2 separate regions of the Homo sapiens genome follow, and region 2 is linked to region 1. Evidence: promoter capture Hi-C in human tissues and cell types (Jung and others, 2019). All regions are on one chromosome and are shown on one strand. The core of a region is centred on a gene start or on the middle of the fragment in contact, and the rest is flanking DNA. Distances in the headings are between cores, read along the strand shown.

The links. The method cuts DNA at HindIII sites, captures the fragments that hold promoters and counts their contacts. A contact is called where the count stands out against the background at its distance.
Region 2: a contact is called between a fragment that was not itself captured here and the fragment with the promoter of RHBDL3 in region 1, in 1 of the 25 tissues and cell types used here (dorsolateral prefrontal cortex).

What each region holds. Positions count from the first base shown.
Region 1 is chr17:32,263,257-32,269,993 of GRCh38, forward strand. It overlaps RHBDL3 (rhomboid like 3), which reads left to right and starts at 2,576. Exons shown (of 9, transcript NM_138328.3): 1 at 2,576-3,044; 2 at 4,646-4,669. The coding sequence starts at 2,934. It overlaps LOC105371731 (a long non-coding RNA gene), which reads right to left and starts at 2,195. Exons shown (of 3, transcript XR_934665.2): 1 at 2,009-2,195; 2 at 1,490-1,640. The HindIII fragment of the contact is 17,639 bases long and covers 1-5,810 here.
Region 2 is chr17:32,474,458-32,480,615 of GRCh38, forward strand. It overlaps PSMD11 (proteasome 26S subunit, non-ATPase 11), which reads left to right. Exons shown (of 14, transcript NM_002815.4): 8 at 307-367; 9 at 3,064-3,126; 10 at 4,794-4,919; 11 at 5,394-5,429; 12 at 5,689-5,740; 13 at 6,032-6,158. Among named protein-coding and RNA genes, the nearest start is that of CDK5R1, 9.5 kb to the right of the region's middle. The HindIII fragment of the contact is 5,751 bases long and covers 1-4,297 here.

The sequences.
Region 1 (6,737 bases), core at 1,326-3,825:
GGATGTTTCCCATCTTCCCTCTCCCTTTTATTCTAACTGCTGCCGCCCTTGTGACCTCTTCCTTGGACAGCACCTCTCATGGCCCTCTGCTCAGGCCAACCTCCCTCCTGTCTAGACTCTACACTACAGCCAAAGGGATCTTTTTTGTTTGTTTTGAGACGGAGTCTCACTCTGTCGCCCAGGCTGGAGTGCAGTGGCAGATCTCGGCTCACTGCAAGCTCCGCTTCCTGTGGTCAAGTGATTCTCCTGCCTTAGCCTCCCGAGTAGCTGGGATTACAGGCGCCCACCACCACGCCCGGCTAATTTTTTGTATTTTTTTAGTAGAGACAGGGTTTCAACGTGTTAGCCAGGACGGTCTCGATCTCCTGACCTCGTGATCCGCCCGCCTTGGTCTCCCAAAGTGCTGGGATTACAGCCGTGAGCCACCGCGCCTGGCCAGGGATCTTTTAAATATTACTCTACTGCTCACAATCCTTCAATGGCTCCCTATTGCCCTTAGGTAAAGTCCAAGCTCTTTTCCCATGAAACTCACAGCCCCTCACAACCTTCCCGTCCAGGCTGGGCTCTTTAGATTGGTCATCGTGCTCCAGTTTCCAGCCATGCCAAACTGCTTGTCGTTTGCCTCCCATATGATGCTGCTCCACAAGCCTGGTCGTGCTGTTCCCTCTACCTGGAACACCTCCTTCACCTTTTCCATGTTGCCTAGTTCTGGAGGCTTATCCTTTGGGAAGCCTTCCTGGACCCACAGCGACCCCCTCCTTTGGAGTTCTACACCTTCTGGGCTTCCCTTGAATCCAGGACTTACCCTTGTGTTGAATGTGACTGTCACCCCCAATTATCCATTTCTGGAGGGCAGGGTCTGGTTCTTATCCACCTCTGTATTCTCAAAGCTCTGTCATTGGTACTTAGTAGGAGCTTAATACATGTTCAGGAACAGAACTGAGCCTGCTAAGCTCCCTTCCCCACGAAGGGATGACAGAGTTGGATATGTTGATAAGAGCTGTCCCTGGGCTGATGAAGAGGCAGCTCCCTGGGTAGCTGGTATCAGAACACTGTCCAGGGTGGCTGGGCATCCCAGCAGAGTGGCCAACCCTTTTCTGTGCCCTTCTCCTTCCAGTTCCCCTGGAACCAGACTTCCTGGCCCACTTCTCTAGTCCCAGAGATCTAAGTATAACAGAGCCAACACCCATACCGGTCATGCAAATGACAGCCTGGGATGCGGGAGGCAGCGACACAGACCCCAGGGCCCCAGCGGTCATTTGTCCTTCTGGGCTCCTCTTCACAAAGGAATCAGCCTCTCTTCTGTCCCCTGAAGGCTGTTTTCAAAATCACACCCCATGCAGACAGTTTTATTTACAAGGAAATCTTGGCAGGATCTTGACTTGTTAGTAGAGTAGGGATGGGGAGGAGGGTGGTGAGAAACAAAAATAGTTGAAATGATCACACTTTCTGAAACAGAGATGAAAATTGGTGTCTGTAGCAAACTCACCTAATTAGAATCAAGTGAATTCCCTTCTCGGTGTTTAAGGGGAGCAGTCATTGCTGGGTGATGGTCGCAGTTCGGATCCTGGGCACGGGGTTATGTCTTTGCTTTCTGAAGATGACTGCATTAGTTGCAGCTCTCACTAATGGAAAGGAGCCTGTTCCGTTTCCCAGAGGAAGGAAGAGGGCAAAGACTAGTGAGTGAGTGGGTGGTGGGAAGAGGAAAGCAAGAGGAGTGGAAGGGCACAGCCTTGGTGTGGGCTGGGGACTGACTGCGAGATGCCTCCTGGAGAAGCTCCTGAGCCTCTGGGGAGAGCTGGCCCCTGCCAGGCCGGCCACTAGCACCATTTACAGCCAGAGCCTCTGCTTCGGGAGATGGTCTCTCTTGGGGGCGCTTTCCTGCAGGGAAACAGCATCGATTGTTTTCTTTAAAAGATCCCCTACTCCGTTTTGGCTAACTTCCTTTCTGATTGCTTTAGTTTCTTTACCGTCCCTCTCCCCAGATGGGGCATTTCCCTGGGCTTACCTTTGTCCATGTGGTCAAATGAAGCCTGGGCATGGTCACTTAGCTCTGGGTGTAGGAAGGGCAAGATTTAGGCTTTGGGGCCCACGACCCCGCAATCTGACTTCTCCCATTTCTGGGCCTCCCGAGACCTCCCAGAATCTGAGACCGCAGTGAATAGGGCGTAAGGATAATGGGGCGGGAGGCAGGAATCCCGTCCTTACAACATCGCGCCCCCAATTCACTCCTAGTTAACCCTGACGTCGCCAACATAGTGTCTCCATCACATATCTGCCACCTCCAAGTGATGGTTAAGCCGATGGAAGAGCCAAGCCCGGGCCCGGAGTGCAGGCCGGTGGTGACCGGGCCGGGGACGGCGCAGTCCCCATCCCCGCCCCGGGCAGCGCCACCACTTCCTCGCCAGCCCCGCCGCAGCCCTCCCGCTCCCGGGCCGCGCCGCTCTGACCGACTGGGCCCGGGTGGCGGCGCCCGGGGTGGGGTGCGGGGCGGGGGCCGGCGTTCCCCGCGAGCAGCCCCGCCCCCGCCCGCGCGCCGCCCCCGAGGACTCCGCGGGGAGGAGGAGACTCGGGCGCAGAGCGGGGGCCGCGAGAAGCGGGAAGGGAGCGCGGGGAGCGGCGGGGCCGGGGCCGGCCCAAGGGCGCCCTCGCCTCGGAGCCGGGCGCGAGGGCCGGGGCGGAGGCGGAGGCCGGCGGGGCAGCTAGCGCAGTGAAGTTTGGCGGCGGAGGGGCCGGGCGTCCCGGGGTCGCGAGGAGGCGGCGGCGGCGCGGGGACCGGGGCCATGGGGGCGGGCGCGGGCTGCGGAGCGGGCGCGGAGGCGGCGCGGCGCGCACTGAGCCCCTGGAGCGGCGCGGCCGCCGCGGCGCAAAGTTAGCCCGGCGCCCCGGGACGAGCCCCGCAGCCGCCGCCGCCCCCGGACCCCGTCTCGGCCATGGGCGAGCACCCCAGCCCGGGCCCCGCGGTGGCCGCCTGCGCCGAGGCGGAGCGCATCGAGGAGCTGGAACCCGAGGCCGAGGAGCGGCTGCCCGCGGCGCCGGAGGACGTGAGTGCCCCCTCCCCGCCCGGCAAACTTTCTAGGGGGCGCCGGGGGGAAAAGCCGCCCCTGTCTCGCCCCACGCCGGGCAACTTGGAGGTTTCAGGGTGACGCGGGAGCGCCCCGGATTGGCCGGGTCCCCGCGGGCAGGAGGGGGCGGAGGGACCGGTCTCCCCGAAACGCGCGCGCACCGCTTCCCCCGCTCTGGTTCCCGCGGCTTCCCTGCGGGACACAGCACCGCCACTGCGCCGCGGACCTGTCACCGCCGGAGCCCCCTCCCCGCCGCTGGTGCAGTGCCCGGGACACGGCGTTTTCCCGCAGAGGCGGCCGCGTCACGGCGGTGACTCCCCCTCCCCTCACGCCCGCGACCTGCGAGCTCCCGGAGCTGGGGAAGGAGCGGACGCCGCAGAGTCCCCGTCCCTGGCCATGCAAGCCGGCCTGGCGACCCCTTCCTCCGCTCCCGGATTAGCTCCCGCCCGGCACCTGCCTTGCCGCGACACTGATTGAAATTCAAGCCGGCCCCCGCCTCTGACCCCGGCCGGAGCAGGGAGGCAAAGAGTGCTGGGAGCGGCTTTGCTCCTAGAAGGAGGCCCGGGAGTCCAAGACCGTGGCGGTGCCAGGGGACGGTCCCCTGGGCGAGGAGAGGGAGGGGCTGCCCCGAGGGCTTCCCCGCCGTCTGCTGCTCGGGTCTCCATCCCTCCGGTCCTGCGGGCCGGCCCTGCGAAGCCCTGGGAACTGGAGTTTCTTGGGTTAACCTCCCGGGGCTAACCTACACATAGGGGTGAAAAACCGGGCAGACACCCTGCCCTGCCCACTCCTCCCTCAGGGTGGGGAGATGGAAGTGAAACCAGGCCCCCAACCCACACAACGAAAGCGGGAAAGTCTGAATGGGGTTGGGGGGTAGTTTACGATCTTCTCTCTTTGGCGTCTGCGGTTAAATCTATCACTTCCTTCTGGCCCTAAACCCCTGGCAGAATCTGATGTAGTCACCACTTAGACTCAGCCTTGGAAGAGAATGGGTGGGCTTCACCGCATTCGGCATTCACCACCCCCCCTTCCCCGCAAAAAAACAAAAAACGAACAAACAAACAAAAAACTGCAGGCAAAATGTTAGTGTTTATGCAGAGGTGAGTTCTCCTGGGGGGGGAGGGGGGGGCTCTAGCTCCCAGCAGGTGAGACTCATTGCGCCGGGGTCTGATGGAATTGCACCTGGCCATGCTCTCCCAGGCCTGGGAGTAGCTGTGGACATAAGCTTTAGGCAGCAGAAATTATTAGAGGCGCTTGGACATATTTGGACGCCTTTATTTAGTAATTGTTGAGAATCACTTGTTCTGCCAGTTCCAGAACCAGCAACACCCACCTTGCCGCCCCCGCCCCCACCCCATCCCTTACTGTGAGTTTCCTCCCTCTGCTCAGTGTGGACTCATTGGGGAGCTCCTCCCAGACTTCCCCTGCTCTCCTGTGGCCAGTCCCTGAGCCTGGTCATGACTCCTGGGCAGCCGCTGGGAGGCTATGTCAGAAACATCCGAGGACTACAGAGACCTTGGTGATAAGTGTGTCTTTCTTTCTCTCCTCTTCTTCCTCTCCTGCATGGCCTCCCTCTCTGCCAGCACTGGAAAGTCCTGTTTGATCAGGTATGTGAGCAGTTAACCCCCCATTTCCTTCCAGCCCTCCCTGAAATCGGTCTCAGTCTCCCTGCTTGCGTGGGCTTCCCTAGCTCCGCGCTCCTGAGATGGTGACGTGGGGTGGGGGTGTGGCTTTGTGCATCTCTAGGGCTGAACGACACTGCTCTCCAGGTATCAGGAGGAAGAGATGGGCTCCCCTGAGAGGATCTCCCTCCTGCCTCCTCCCTACTCTGCTGCACCAGAGCCGGGTTTACACCATGTAGAAATTGGACGTTATATATTGAATGCCTGGGAAATCCTCCATATGCCAGGGGATTGCAGTAGGGGGCTGGAGAGGTGGGGGAAGGGCTTGGGCTGACAATCCCTCTCCGTTTCTACCTCCACTATGGAGGGTCCATGGCCACCGCTGAAGTCAAATCTCTGCCATCCTTGGGGGCTGACTCACAGTATGGACTCTTTTGAAGTCTAATTCAATGTCTTTAATTCTGTCATAGGGATGAGGGAGTGCTGGGAGGTTACAGAGGGGAAATTGTGTGTGATTCTTCGCAATGCCTGGAGTCCAGGTGTAGGGCATGGAGTTGGGGGTGCCAAGTATTGGCTTTTGAACCTGGAGATGGACATTTGACCTTCAGCAAGGAAATGGTTCTCCTCTTAGCATTCGTGGTGGGTGCTGTTATGTGCTTCCTTCTCCCTCTTTGCCCCATGTTGGAGGATAGTTGAGTGCTATAGTCCTGGGGTGAGAATGATTGTGCCATGAAGTTTGTGCAACTTTAAGAAATTGGTGTGAGTGGGCCAGAGGGAATGTGTTGGGTAGGAGAAGGAGATAAAGCTGAAAAATTAGCTTGAACCAGGACTTCGTTGTAGGCAGGGGAAGCCTTAGAAAGTTTTTTAGCAGGGTTGTTATGTGATCCAAGCCAGGCTTGGGAAAGCTCCAGTGTCTTAGGGGATAAGGAGTGAATGGGCTACGGGGATGAGGGAAGCTAGGCAGGAGCTGCAGCACTGAACAGAGGCAAGAAGGTGACAGTGAGGATGGACGGGAAGAGGGACATGGTGATGGAAGAATTGGAAGATCTTAATAGACCGTAGGTGAGGGGAACCACATATCTAACTTTGAGATTCTGAACCTAGGAGGGAAAGAAGTTGGAGTGGGGCCAGGTGTGGTGACTCACGCTTGTAATCCCAACACTTTGGGAGGCTAAGGCGGGAGGATCACTTGAACCCAGTAGTTCAAGACCAGCCTCGCCAACAAAGTGAGACCTCATCTCTACAAAAAATTAAAAAATCAGCCAGGCATGGTAGCACACTCCTGTGGTTCCAGCTACATGAGAGACTGAGGCAGGAGGATTGCCTGAGCCCAGGAAGTTGAGGCTGCAGTGAGCCACGATCGTGCTACTGCACTCCAACCTGAGTGACAGAGTGGGACCCTGTCTCAAAACAAAAACAAAAAACAAGTTGGAGTGAGGAGAGACGTTTGGCAAAAATGACAACTTTGGTTTGAGACAAGTTCAGTTAGAGGAGCCAGCCGGTTGCAGATGCCGGAGTGGGCGTGATGACACGGAATTGCAGCGCGAAAGGCCTGGGGTGAGGATTTGGGGTGATCATCCACATTAACCACGAGGTCTGGCTGTGGTTTGAAGTTCAAAGCATGCACTGGCTCCTGTCCTGACGGGTAGAGCATCTCTCCCTCTGGCTCCTAAGAGTACAGCAGCTGCTGGCCTGATGCCCCAAGGCAGGAGGGAGCCCGCTGCGCCACTGCCACCACTACCACCAAGCTGCCAGCCCTTCACACCTCCTGCCAGATTTAGAATCAGAACCTAGAACAAAGTGTATCATTCTTTTTTTTTCTCTGTCTGTGTCTATCTTTTTCATTTGATTAATTTCCTTTGCCAGTCCCTGTGTGTATGTGTACATTTTAAAACAAACCATTTGGGTGAAAGGAAGAGAGCTTTTAGTAGGAAGATTTTGGAACTCAAGGGAGCAGAAAGAATGTGTAGCACCTAATAGTAGCTAGTGGTCTATTAAATCGAATTTTTCCAACTGAAGGTAGGTCCTGGGTCCTGGGTGTCACAAAGAGCAT
Region 2 (6,158 bases), core at 172-2,671, 210 kb after region 1:
TAATACCTGTTACACTGGGATTTGACTTAAACTTATAGTTCTGCTTGTTGTGTCTATTGCTTTTGGTAGGTTCAGTTCAGCTTTCTAACATTGGAGTTTTTCTACTCTTCAGGCTGAGCTGTGACCCAGAGTGGAGAAAACCTAGCTTTTGCAATGTGATGGGCATATGGGTTTAGGGGTTGGGCTGATTGTCTGTGTGGGCAGAGTCTTTATTACAATGGAATTCTGTTAAAAAGAAATTTGCCCAAACCTTCCTTTAGAAGCATAACATCTGCAGCAATTGACCAAGTATGTCTTTTTTTCTAGCCCAGAAGATGTCCAGGCTTTGGTGAGCGGGAAGCTTGCACTTCGGTATGCAGGGAGGCAGGTAGGGACTCCCTTGACTGCAGTTCTGCTCACTCTGAGACCAGCATGTTTTCAGAGTCACAACGTTTGATGAGACCAGCACTCTTCAGATCTTCATACTACTCTCTTCCTTCTGCCCCACTCACTTCCTTCCCTTAAGCCCATTCAGTGTGTTTCCCAGACTGTTAAATTCTTGGCCTGGAAAGTCAGCGTTTGGTGCTCTTATGGACATCACGTTGTTTGAGGGACTTAGGGAACTGAACTGTAGCATTTGCAGTGAGTTAGTTTGCATTTGGCTTTGACCAGAAGATTTATCTACCACGAGTCTGAGTTGTGAATTTAACATAGGCAGGGTATGAAATCTTAGATTCTCCAGGTTAGGAGCCTGGTAAGGTCTGGTGCATATGTGCTTTAGAGAGGTCTGATTGCTTGGTGCAGAAACTAGGTTTTGAGATTTACTTCTGTGCTTCTCAGATCAGTACCTTTCTACTCGTGCTTTGAATTTTGGGTGTGGTGCAAAAAGAGGCCCTTTTTTTTTTTTTGTTACCTTAATGCCCAAGTAGGTATGAGTGTGACTTCTGAGAGCAGACAGTTAGGACCTACGCAAAGATGACGTCTAGACTGTCTCCTCTTTGTATTTTGCTTGATTATCACTAGTAAAGTAAGTGTAATCTTTCTGGATTTCAACTGCAGTGGTCTCTAAACACAGACTGATTGGCTGTCTATATAATCTCACTGTATCTCTGGAGGAGTGGCCACATAGATGATTTCTTCCCTCTCTACAAGTGGCCCTAATTGGCTTTTTTTTTTTTTTTGAGTTGGAGTCTCATTCTTTCATTCAGGCTGGAGTGCAGTGGCGTATCTCGGCTCACTGCATCCTCCTCCTCCCAGTTTGAAGTGATTCTCCTGTCTCAGCCTCCCGAGTAGCTGGGATTACAGGCATCCGCCACTATGCCCGGCTAATTTTTTGTAGTAGAGACAGGGTTTTGCCATCTTGGCCAGGCTGTCCCAAACTCCTAACCTCAAGTGATCCGCCCACCTCAACCTCCAAAAGTGCTGGGATTGTAGGTGTGAGCCACTGCATCCAGCCACGCATCTTCCAGTATAGTAATAACCGGTACTCTTGAGGTCAAAACCAGGAGCTGACCTGAAACTTTTGCTGATAAAAAGCCAATTAGGGGCTGGACGTGGTGGCTCATGCCTGTAATCCCAGCACTTTGGGCGGCTGAGGTGGGCGGATCACTTGAGGTCAGCAGTTTGAGAGCAGCCTGGCCAATGTGGCAAAATCCCAGCTCTATTAAAAATACAAAAATTAGCCGGGCATGGTAGTGCATTGGTGGCTGTAATCCCAGCTACTCAGGAGGCTGAGGCAGGAGAATCACTTCAAACGGGGAGTGGAAGTTGCAGTAAGCCAAGATAGCACCACTGTACTCTAACCTGGGCGACAGAGTGAGACTCTGTCTTAAAAAATAATAAATAAGAAAGATGCACTACTCTCACTATAACTAGAGTTGAGGAGACAGGCTCAGGGACATCCAAGTGTTCAGGGCAAGGTCAGGTAGCTAATCAATGGTGGAGCTAGACTTTGAATTAGGGTCATTGGCTCTAAGTTCCAGGCTTTTCTCATTTTGACACTTTTTTCTGTCTATAGGACAAATGCTGGAGACAAACACACTAATGATTAGCCTTGCACCATGTAGTCTACTGTATAAGACACACTGTTCTTATATAAGCATGTAGGCTGATAAAAGAGCAGCTTCTCTTAGTCCCTTGCGCCTTTGATGTTAGCTTTTAAGCAGGAGATAGGCTAATCTCCCAGAAAGATGAGTGTTGCAGATTTTTTGCTGAGTGGAGACTTAATAGCTTGGTCAGGTGCCTTTTTTAACCATGTTAGAAGTTGTTCTCAACTATTGATTATACCTTCATCACTCTGTGGGGTCTTAACATTTGGTGTAATATGTTAATGCCGCAACCTTTTTTTGAGACGGATTCTTTTTCTATCACCCAGCTGCAGTGCAGTGGCATGATCTTGGCTCACTGCAACCTCTGCCTCCTGGGTTCTAGCAATTCTCCTGCCTCAGCCTCCCAAGTAGCTGGGATTACAGGCGTCCACCACTATGCCCGGCTAAGTAGAGAAGGGAGTTTCACCATGTTGGCCAGGCTGGTCTCGAACTCCTGAACCTCAAGTGATCTGCCCACCTCGGCCTCCCAAAGTGGTGGGATTACAGGTGTGAGCCACTGTGCCTGGCCTTGATGCCTCAGTGTTAATGAGGTAGACCTTGTTCAGTGCCTTGTTCCAAACCTAGCAGAATGAATCTTGATAAAGCACAGATATAATAGGGTCTAAGGGCAAGAAGGAGTTTGGGTGGATGTGGCGATAACAAGCCTTGGAGGAAGGGAGAAGAAATCACAGTTCTCTTGTCATTTTTCCTTTTAGCTTGTCATCTCTAGAGAATGCTATATTAGGGTCGGTCTGTTTGGAAAATTTCTGTTTCCTAGTATTATTAAGTCATTTCAGGTTTCAAAGGGAAACAGGTTGGCATATAGTGGTATTCAGTACTTGCGGCTCTTCTTCCCGGGCGTCTGAAGAAGAACGATGGTGGGGCGGGTTCTTCCTTTTGGCAGAAGTTGTGTGGACACAGCATACTGCTTATGAGACTTGGGTAAATGTTAGTGTGCAGAATAAATCGCTTTCATGGTTTGTCTCTTTATTCTCAGACAGAAGCATTAAAATGCGTGGCTCAGGCTAGCAAGAACAGATCACTGGCAGATTTTGAAAAGGTGAGTATGATATTGGGTTGGTATGGAATGTGAGTGGAAGAGAGGGACGTTTAAGTACTTCAAAACACACTTTTAAAAATAATTATAGTTTCAAAAGAAGTTGCAAATGATTCCATGTATCCTTCACCTAGGACAGTATTAAAACCAGGAAATAGTTAAGCACTTTGTACAATGAAACTTACTGAGTTGATATAAAATATATATTATTTATACATAATACCTTTCTATTTCAAAAGTTCTTTCTGTCCTTTTTTCACTTTGATTTTTCACAACACACCTATTTATTATCTGCATTTTATGGTTAAGGGAACTGGGATTCAGGAGGACACTCAAAGTCACACAGCATAGGGTCAGAGTTTGACTCTAGGCCTAGTGCTTGTTCCACATGACACAGTTGTAGGCATTCCTTCAGCTCCAGAAATGCCAGGTCTGCTCCTCTGTGGACAGAAGGGAAGTCTTGATGTGCGTACTTGGACCCAAAGAAACGTCCTCAGGGTGATGATCTAGGCTTTCTTTAACCCTGGTGCATTTTGCTCATTGTTTGGGAGTTTTGAAAAGGGAGAAAAGCCTGTCTGGGCATTAGGGTGAGAATTATATAGTCTTTCCTGAACCTCTCTCCTTTTAGTCTGAGTATAATGATCAACTTAATAAAAACAAAACCTAGATCCAGAGAGAAAAACTTAGTGTGGATGGAGACTAGACCATGTGGCTTTGACTGTCCCTGAGATTCACCATCTTCCTGGAGGGCTCTTGCCAATTCCTATTGCGTCTTACTTGGCATGATTCGCCTGCTTCCCTTAACACCTTGTAGCACAGCTGACATGAGGCTGGGATGTTGAGACCATTACTGATGGTCCAGTAAATCACACACATGAATACTTGGTCTAGATCATTTTATCCCAATGTCTGAGATGTTTGATGGGACACTTTTATTCCAAATAGTTCCTTGGAAGAAGGATTCTGTGATTAGATATTTGGGAAATACTAGGGCTAAACAAAATACTAGGGCTAATAATAATTAAAACACCTAATTTTGCTTAATCATTGCAGAGCCATGTTATGCTGATGGTCCTCATAAAACTCCCAAGAGCTAGTTGTGGAATTCAGCATTTCCTATTCTTTAACCTCAATGTTCTTTTTTTCCCCCCCATGGAGACCCTATTTATTCTGTAGAATACATGCTGAGAAATGCTTGTGTAGCTAATTTGGTTCATGAGCTGAGTTGCTCTTGGGGCTTACATGGTTTGAGCTGTTCACCTGAAGCCTGCAGACAGAAAGATGGTCCCTAGGGTGACTCCACCTTTTTGTTCTATTTTGTATTTTTTTTTTCTCTTAGAGACTACCATAAAATAGCATTTTTAAAAATTTATTTTTAGAGATGGAGGCTCTCTGTGTTGCCCAAGCTGGACTTGAACTCTTGGGCTCCAGCAGTCCTCCCACATGAGCCTCCCGAGTGACTGGGACTCCAGGTGCGTGCCACCAAGCCAAACTTCCCTTTCAGTTCTTGACATTCCTTTTCTGCTTTGTATCATGCATCTCCCCAGATCTCCCCTAACTTCATTCAACCATGTAGTTTTATAAGGGCCAGCAGACTATCTAGGAAGCAGGAGTAGCATGACTTTAAAGTGATTCTCTGTGCCAATCTCTGCAACTGGTTCCTTTGGCAGGCTCTGACAGATTACCGGGCAGAGCTCCGGGATGACCCAATCATCAGCACACACTTGGCCAAGTTGTATGATAACTTACTAGAACAGAATCTGATCCGAGTCATTGAGCCTTTTTCCAGAGTACAGGTGAGAACCCTCTGGGGACTCCATTTCTGGCCAGGCATTCTCACTGTAGCCACCTCCCTTCCACACCTGTCCAGAATGGGAACTCACTTCTAGGGGTGTGCCTGGTGGGCAAGAGGCCACCAAGAGCTTGGGCCTCTGTTGATAAAATGAACAAAAATCGAGGAGAGAGATGCTGTGGGTAGAGGCATGTGGGTTGCCCCTGCATGTGTTCTGAGCAGTTTCCTCCTCGCTTTTAGTCACTGCATGTGTTGTACCTGTTTTCTGTATTGGGTGTGTGGGATAAGAGTCTGTTTATTGTGTGTAGCAGTGAAGGGCAGGCAGATGGGCAGAGAACAAGAGACTTAAGCACGGCCAAGGAGGGTCTTACATTAGAATTTTGAGAAATACAGCAGTTCTCCCCCTGTTCCCTCCCTTCTCTTATTGGAGGCAAAAGTAAAACTTTCAGTGTTGGTGTCTCTCTGCCTTTCCTTTTAGATTGAACACATATCTAGTCTCATCAAACTCTCCAAGGTAAGGAGTCTTAAGGCCATCTGCAGGGAGGAATGGGACGGGGTGGCGAGGAGGGGTGGCACATGCACCTGATTGGCCTCATTGGAAAGCTCCCCAGCTTCTCAGTGGGGAATGGGCAGTGTGGACTAGAGTAGGAGTTGCATTGTTGCTATTTTGTTTTCAGTCCATTTGGCCTAAGACCCCTCCAACAAAGCTACTGTGTCAGGGTGATCTCTGACTAGTGGATACTGGTCCCTTTAATCATGTGCTTTGATTTTAGGCCGACGTGGAAAGGAAATTATCACAGATGATTCTTGACAAGAAATTTCATGGTAAGTAACAGTCACACAGGCAAGGGGGCTGGTGGTGGTGATGAGATGGTTGAAGAAGTTTATTTTCAAAGAAGATGTTCTATTTGTTTCCCCCGATGGTTCACCCTGGGGTCCTGGCCCCTCTTCCCTGTGATGAGAATGTGTAATAAGCATGTGTACATGGAATAGGGAGATGAATTCTATTTCCCTTCTTTTCTGGACACAGTGAGTCAACTAGGGAGTGGGCTGCTTCACAAACACTTTTGTGTCTAACCTCATCTTTTACCTGGGTTGCCCTTGTGTTTCTTGCAGGGATTTTGGACCAGGGGGAGGGTGTCCTGATTATTTTCGATGAACCCCCAGTAGATAAAACTTACGAAGCTGCTCTGGAAACAATTCAGAACATGAGCAAAGTAGTGGATTCCCTCTACAACAAAGC